Linked DNA regions of Homo sapiens: region 1 is linked to region 2. Evidence: promoter capture Hi-C in 16 types of primary human blood cells and fetal thymus (Javierre and others, 2016). All regions are on one chromosome and are shown on one strand. The core of a region is centred on a gene start or on the middle of the fragment in contact, and the rest is flanking DNA. Distances in the headings are between cores, read along the strand shown.

Evidence for each region. The method cuts DNA at HindIII sites, captures the fragments that hold promoters and counts their contacts. A CHiCAGO score of 5 or more calls a contact.
Region 1: a contact is called between the fragment with the promoter of DEFB129 here and the fragment with the promoter of DEFB125 in region 2, in 3 of 17 cell types (erythroblasts, endothelial precursors and megakaryocytes). The highest score is 9.0, in erythroblasts.

What each region holds. Positions count from the first base shown.
Region 1 is chr20:225,515-229,643 of GRCh38, reverse strand. DEFB129 (defensin beta 129) reads right to left here and starts at 2,386. Exons shown (of 2, transcript NM_080831.4): 1 at 2,298-2,386; 2 at 1-366. The coding sequence starts at 2,355. The HindIII fragment of the contact is 3,129 bases long and covers 1,082-4,129 here.
Region 2 is chr20:85,140-89,526 of GRCh38, reverse strand. It overlaps DEFB125 (defensin beta 125), which reads right to left and starts at 1,855. Exons shown (of 2, transcript NM_153325.4): 1 at 1,760-1,855. The coding sequence starts at 1,817. The HindIII fragment of the contact is 5,466 bases long and covers 1-3,692 here.

The sequences.
Region 1 (4,129 bases), core at 1,137-3,636, 140 kb before region 2:
CAGTGTATGTGATCTGTCCTGGGGTCATAGTGCTGATGGTGGCAGAGTTCATAGGGGTGGCATTTGGAATGATGACAAAGTTGGTATTAGCAAAAAAGCTAGTGCTTTTGATTTGGGGGAGAACAGATAAAATATGTTTTCTTTGTATCACAGCACTAGAATTCTTGGCAGGTTTTAGCATTTCTTGGACGTCTTCATTAAGTACATTTGGTGTTCCATATTGCAGGTAGTTTTTAATCAATTTAACCACTTTTGGTCCAACACAACATTTTTTCATCTTGCATTTCTGTATCTCTTTTTCATCCACATTGCAGTGATCCCTGCATCTCCCCAAACCCATTAAACAGCGTCTCAAGCCAATAAATTCTGTATAAAAAAAGAGAAAGCCATTGAGCCAAGGTTAATAACTAGAGATGATGTTAAAACTGCTAGTGGGAGATGGATAGACTAAGAGAGAGTTTACTCATACTACATTTTAAGCCCAGTGTTTAGGAATGTTGATGAAGGCAAATGGGCAGGCTGAGAGCGTCTCTATGCCCCTCTTGAATCCAAAGTAAATTTCCTGTTTAGTCTGCCTTCCTTGAGTAACTTTAAGAAGCAAAGGGCACGTAGATGATAGAGTAATTATTTGCTTTTAGGATGGAATTTTAGACCTTCAACTTAGCATCTTAGGTACTTGTCAGACATCACTATCCCATCTCCATAATCTTGGGAAATACCAATGAGAGCCAAGTCCATCATAAAACTAATTTAAGAAAGAAGTTCAAAAGAGAATCAATAGAATTTTCAGGAGTCTTATCTTTTCACCAAACTCAGTAGCCCATGACTTCTCTCTTCTCAACAATCACTAGATCTGTGATTCCTGAAGCATGGTGTTCTATCTCTTCTAGCCTCTTTGGACACTCTATCTCTCAGAAGTCTCATTCATTATCCTAGCCTTAACCTCATATCCACCAAGGTAACTTCTGTATTGTTATCTATAATTCTAAATTTCCTGCTCGGCTTAGTACCTTATCTTTATCTGCTGAATGACTTTTCCATCCTAATGTCTCGTGTTTCTTTTTTCTGAATCAAGAAAGCTTTTCTCCCTTGTTCATCTTAATAACCCAATGATTTTCCCTAAATTACAAGAGATTTATGTAGCATCTGCTAATTTTCAAAGCATATTTGCATACATTTCCACATTGTTTTCTCATCAAACGGGAAACAGAAAAATTCTTATATTGGAATCAGCTGCATTGATTAACCCCATTATACTCATGTGAAATTGAAGTTCAAAGTGGTTAAGTGACTTTACCCAAGATGACACAGCCATACTTGCTTATGGTACTACCCTTTTCCTAGGGTCCCAAGATAAAAACATTAGAAGATAAAAACATTAGAAGCATCTTTGACACTTCCACTTTCCCTGCCCCGAAACCCTTTGCTAATTTTTTCAAATAGCTGGATGATTCTTGTATTCTGAAACAAATCTCAGTGCTTCTCCTTTCTTTTCCAAAAACAATGGTTAATCCCCTGGCTTAGCCTTTTGCTATAATGCATTCCTAGATGCCCTTATGGTAGTTTGGGGGTTTTCAGGAAGACAAAGTCTGAGAGAAGCGATAAAGGCTCTGGAAAACCTGAAAGAATTCAAGATGGAGAACACAGGCCTGTTTACTTGATCTTGAAAGGGTTTTTTTTTGAGCATGAGGGAAGAACTTCCTCCTTTCTACACCAAGCACAAACTGATAGGAAACTTTGCTTCAAGAGGTGGTTTCACAGGAAGGGGAACAACACACACTGGGGCCTGTTGGGTGGAGGGAGAGCATCAGGAAAAATAGCTAATGCATCCTGGGCTTAATACCTGGGCGATGGGTTGGTAGGTGCAGCAAATAACCATGACACACATTTACCTATGTAACAAACCGCACATCCTGCACAAGTACCCCAGGACTTTTTTTAAAAAAAAAGGGCTTTTAAGATAGAAATAGAGCTAAAAGGAGGTAGACCTGGGCTTAGTCTTAGCATGATAGACATATACAGGGCAGGAAGGCAGCATTATATTTTGGATAGTTTCTGAATAGACAAAAAATACCCTGCTTTCTCTGTAGCTTCCTGGGTGTTTCCACTGGACACAATCTGGCAGTTGGGGCCTATGAGAATGTATCAGTGCATGACTGATACAATAGGTAAGCTCTTTAGCCATCTTTTTGAACAGCTAATCTTTCAGTCTCCTCTCTTTGGGTTTCCATTGTCATGGGCAGCCAAATCCTTGGTTCCTCTCATCTACCCATCTTAAACTTGGGAATCCACATTACCTGTGTTCACCTGGTACTGTAGCATGAGGCTGGCAAAGATAGGAAAAAGGAGCTTCATGGTTGGGTGCCAGAGAGGAAGCCTTGAATCTGGGTTGATGCTCCTGAGCTCCAGCCTTTATTGGCCTCTTCGTGGCCTTATGCCATGAGCAGTGAAGTGCAGCCAAAGCAGGTTTGTATGCTGCTCGCAGTATAGTTGTGTTTTTTCTGACTCTGTTTGAAAACACCCTTTCTTGAACACCTCTATGCAACAAATTCCTTGCTCTTGATCCTGGAGGAAAACATAAGATAGGTAAGATGAGAAAGAAAGAGCAAGCCCTTTGCATGTGTCTCTCTTTTGCTTTTTTGAGATGGAGTCTCACTCTGTTGCCCAGGCTGGAGTGCAGTGGCGTGATCTCGACTCACTGCAACCTCCGCCTCCCAGGTTCAGGCAATCCTCCTGCCTCAGCCTCCCAAGTAGAGTATCTGGGACTACAGGCATGCACCACCATGCCCAGCTAACTTTTGTATTTTCAGTAGAGACGGGGTTTCACCATGTTGGCCAGGCTGGTCTCAAACTCCTGACCTCAAGTGATCCGCCCACCTTGGCCTCCCAAAGTGCTGGGGTTCCAGGCATGAGCCACCGCACCCAGTCGCATGTCTCTTTCTTAACGTTGGAGTAGGATAAGAGTTAGATATTTGATTCACTGATTGTCAGCCCAGTTATGCTAAGGTTGGCACTTAGTGCATGAGAATTAGAAGAGCTAGAGGAGAGTGAAGATTCTGCCTTGTTTGTACTGGTATGTCCAGTGGCCAGCATGGGTATTGGATCAACATACAAAGTCAGTACGTTTGTTAAACAAGTTCGTGGGAGACAGCTCTTGGCACATCTTTAACTTTTGAGTTTACAATGATTCCCACATCCTTTTAAAGTAGCAACTAAAAAAAAACTTTTTTAACTTCGCGGGTATATGTGCAGGATGTGCTGGTTTGTTACATAGGTAATGTGTGTCATGGGGGTTGGTTGTATAGATTATTTCATCACCCAGCTATTAAGCCTAGTGTCCATTAGTTATTTTTCCTCATCCTCTCCCTCCTCCCACCTTCCACTCTCCAGTAAGCTCCAGTGTGTGTTGTTCCCCTCTGTGTGTCCATGTGTTCTCATCATTTTGCTCCCACCTATAAGTGAGAACATGCAGTATTTGGTTTTCTGTTTCTGCCTTCATTTGCTAAGGATAATGGCCTCCAGCTCCATCCATGTCCCTGCAAAGGACACGATCTCATTCTTTTTTATGGCTGCATAGTATTCCGTGGTATATATGTACCACATTTTCTTTATCCATTCTTTATCCAAATGGCCAAATGATGGGCATTTGGGTTGATTCTATGTCTTTGTTATTGTGAATAGCGCTGCAGTGAACATATGCATGCATGTGTCTTTATAATAGAACCATTTATATTCCTTTGGGCATATACCCAGTAATAGGATTGCTAGGTCAAATGGTATTTCTGACTTTAGGTTTTTGAGGGATTGCCACACTATCTTCCACAATGGTTGAAATAATTAAAAGCAGCAATTTTTATAGTGTACTGCTCAGATTCCTTGGTCGTAGCTGATTGATCCAGGTGTAACAATAGAACCAAGCCTACCAATCAGATGCTTTCCCCTGCTAATTTGGGACATTTCCTAAGAAACTCAGATATTGAAGCTCATTGGCTCTGAATATTATTAATTGTTCAAGTTTCAAGAGTTTCCCTGGTTCCTCGCCTTCCTGAAATTCATGTCTTCTTAGGATTTCATTAGCTACTATAGTATCCAATGACTCCTCAGTTTTGTTTAAATTAACTGTTATTTT
Region 2 (4,387 bases), core at 606-3,105:
TACAGTCATTGGAAATACAGTTTTTGAAAATAGTAAATGGGAAAATACTAATAGTATAATAGAAAATTTATAAGTATGCTATACATTTTTATTCAAATAAGAAAACTGAGGAAGAACAATAGATCAAAAATATTTTGTCTCTTTTAACTTCTTTACAATTTTTTTACTTCTTTACAATTTCAAAATTTCCAAATTTTCAACAAATACAGCAGTTTATAATCAGAAATGAATGTAGATATTAATTCTGTAACTCACATTACATCAACATGTGAATCAAGACATAACAGATCATAGGCACAGTTATAACCATTTAATAGACATGAATAGCATCTTTCTAGGCAACATATAACACCTCCAAATTTAACAAAAGCCAAATTTCTTAGTATATAAAGATAATTAAGAAAGTTTAGAAATCTAATGGACTGGATGTTCAAACTCATTTATAACTAAAGTGTCATGAATTCAAACATCAGGACATCATTTTCACATATTAGACTGTAAAACTGAATGTAGTAGAAAACTGAATGTAGTAGAAAAAACAAAAAGGACTGATGAGGGTGTGGGAAGCTGACACTCTTGCAACTGGTGATAGGAGAGAAGAATAGTTCAGCTTTTCTGGTAGGTGGTTTGACTGTGTGTGTGTGTGTGTGTGTGTGTGTGTCCACGTGTCCAGTCATAAATGAAAAGACATACATTTGTTTACAAATTTTTCTTGCTGAATTGTTTTTGATAATTAAAGACCTATTTTTCATCAGTAGCGGAGTAATTAATGTGAGGCAATTCATCTGCTCCTCCTCAAAGTTTTACTTATCGATTAAAAATAATGAACTAGGTTTATGTATGGATAAGATGTCTCTAATATATTGCTAGTACATTGCAGAACAATTCACATGGTGCATTTGCAATTGCATTTTTTAAAAATCTAAAAGGTATACACATGCAAATATAAATATATTTGTATTTGCTAGGATATATAAGAAATTGGTAACATTGATTGATTCTGAAGGGGAAGACTGAAGAACTGGTATTCTTGGACAGACAAACATTTTTCTTTTCCTTAAACCCTATAAATCCATCGATTGCTTGATACATAAGTCAATTGCAAGTATTATTTTTTAATAAAAAGTTAACAATTTTCAAAAGTAGCATTATTAAATAGTGGAAACAGACTGTTCCTATTCATCTAAAATTAGAAGCTCCCCATTGGTCACTAGTCTGTCTATCCTGTCTTCACTCCACTTATTTCCACTTCTACCCCAAACATATATATTGTCTCTTCCATATGATAGTGCTACAGAATCTACAAACTGTCAATGGACTTGTTCACCATATCTAAGAACATGAAAGTGAGGGCCTCCCTCTGAAGGTACCCTCCGGGCAAAGAAGAATTCAAGATGGTAGGAGAACTAATAGGACACAACAATGAAATAGATACAACAGAATAATCGAAATGGAAGTGAAGTGAGGCTGAACTAACATTGGATAGTTATGTAGAGAGACAGATAGGGTGGCTCAGAGCATTAAGGAAATTCTTGTCTTTGGAGAAATGCCTCAGAGGACATCCCAGCTTGCTAGATGCCCCTAACAGAAAGATTCTCAGAGACTAGGGGCATGGAGCTGCCAAAATAAGAGCATTCTGCTGCTCTTTGTTGGCCCAGATTTTTCCTGCAGATTCCCTCTCTTCCCATCATGATACCAGGGGAGCCCAAGGGCAACAACTCATCCTAGTCATCATCTCTGCTTTATAGGGTTCCATTACCTTTGGTCACCCGAGTTAGCAACCCACAGATAATGAAGGTCAGCATCAGGATATTCATGGCTCCTGGGAGAGAGGAAGCTCTGTGTCCTGAGGAATACAGAACACTGCACAGCAAGGAATTTAAGTGGTCACCTTTACTGGTCTATCATGGGTGATGAACCAGAGAAGGGGAAAATGCCATGCCACCCAGATCACCAGACCATTAATTTGCAACACTGAGTGTGCATGACACAATAACGTCTGCTTCTAGAAATTATTAAAGAAAGCTGAGGCCTTATGAGATAAGCTATTATCCCGTAGAACTGTAAGGTCTGATGGAAAGAAACAGCCCCAAGAGGAAGTTTTTGTTAACTTTAGATGGGCTCAATTGTCCTTCTCCTCTGTCTGTATGCAGCACTTTGTACATACCCAATGACAGCAGAATGGTGTGTAAAGATATCACTTGTGGCAGTTCAATAGCTTACAACATCCGGTATTCACCTTTTCTTCTGAGTGATCACCCCGATATGAATTCCTGTGAAACAAGAAAGACACTTTTTAACTAATAAGTTCATAAGATTCCATCAATTATGAGACAGAAGGAATTTGGAATGAAAATAGTGAAAACAGGAAAACAGGTTTTATTGGTGCTCTTCTTTTTCCCGTTCCGCTGTCCCATCAACTCTTTTCCCTCATTCAGAAATACAAATAAGAAATGAAATATTGAGAGAGAGGAAACATTTTAAAAGGAGAGGGAGAGAGAAAGAGAGAGAGGAGAGAGGCCCAATGTAACATTATGCCCCCCATCCCCACTACCAAAGGAGAAAAATATAGGAGACATTTGTGAAATTGCCCAGTAGGAGTGATCAGCATTTTATCTCCTGGAAGAGTTTGCTGAGCTGTATTTCTCCCACATATGTTTAATACCAAGGAAATCAGGAAAATTTTAAAAAAATTTTCTAAACAGCTGCACTGTTTAGAAAAAAAACTGCAGCTCACTGCCCATGTTCATTTAATTTTACATTAACATGCTCTGGAGGCTGACTGATGTTCAGTGTGAAAATAAAATATACAAACTGTTCTTGGAATTATTTTTAAACAGAACTAACATCAGAATCATCTGAATAATCAGAATCATCTATTTTGGAAAAAACCGGATTCATTAAATGACTCTTTGGCCCAAAACTGTTTGAGAACAATGTTAACATGGGAATGCTATGCTTTCTAGAATTTGACATTTTCAGCGATCAAGAATTTCTATATTTTGTAAATGGAAATACCACTGCTAACAACAAGATGCTATAAATAGAATGATGATTTGTGTTTTCAAAGTCGATATATTAGAACGATGTGAAAATAATAATAAAGGCGAGATATTTTGTGGCAAAGTTATCTCAGGGTAAACCCTGCAGCTGCAAGTGCCACCAGCGAGTATTCTGGGTGAAAATGGGAAAAGGGTTAAAAATGCAGGATGGCCAAAGCCATCCTAAGCAAAAAGAACAAAACTAGAGGAATCACATTACCTCACTTCAAATTATACTACAAAGCTATAGTAACCAAAACAGCATGGTACTAGTATAAAAACAGACACATAGAGCAATGGAAAAGAATAGAGAACACAGAAACAAGTCCACACATCTACAGTAAACTCATTTTTGACAAAGTTGCCAAGAACATACTTTGGGGGAAAAACAGTCTCTTTAAAAAATGGTGCTGGGAAAACTGGATATCCATATGCAGAATAATGAAACTAGACCCCTGTCTTTCACCATATACAAAACATTAAGTCAAATGGATTAAAGACTTAAAGCTAAGATCTCAAACTATGAAACTACTATAAGAAACTGGGGAATCTCTCCAGGATGTTTGGACAAAAATTTCTTGAGTAGCAACCCACAAACAAAGGCAATCGAAGCAAAAATGGACAAATGGGATCACATCAAGTTAAAAAGCTTCTGCACAGCAAAGCACACAATCAACAAAGTGAAAAGACAACCCACAGAATGGGAGAAAATATTTGCAAACGACCCTTCTGACAAGGGATTAATAACAGGAAATACAAAGAGCTCAAACAATTCTATAGGAAAAAAATCTAATGATCCAACTTAAAAATGGGCAAAGTATCTGAATAGATATTCTCAAAAGAAGACATACAAATGGCAAACAGGCAGATGAAAAGGTGCTCAAAATCACTGATCATCAGAGAAATGAAAATCAAGCTACAATGGAATATCATCTCACTCCAGTTAAAATGGCTTTTATCCAAAAGACAGGCAATAGCAAATGCTGGCAAGGATTTGGAGAAAGGGAAACCCTTGTATGCTACTGGTGTGAACGTAAGATAGTACAACCACTATGGAGAACAGTTTGGAGGTTCCTAAAAAAACTGAAAATAGAGTTACCATACAATCCAGCAATCCCACTGCTAGGTACACACTCCCCTCCAAAAGGAAATAAGAATATTGAATAGATATCTGCACACCTGTGCTTGTTGCAGCACTATTCACAATAGCCAAGATTTAGAAGCAACGTAAGTGTCAATCAACAAATGAGTGGATAAAGAAAATGTGGAACTTATACACAGTGGAGTATTATTCAGCCATAAAAAAGAAAGAGATGCTGTCATTTGCAATAACATGGATGGAACTG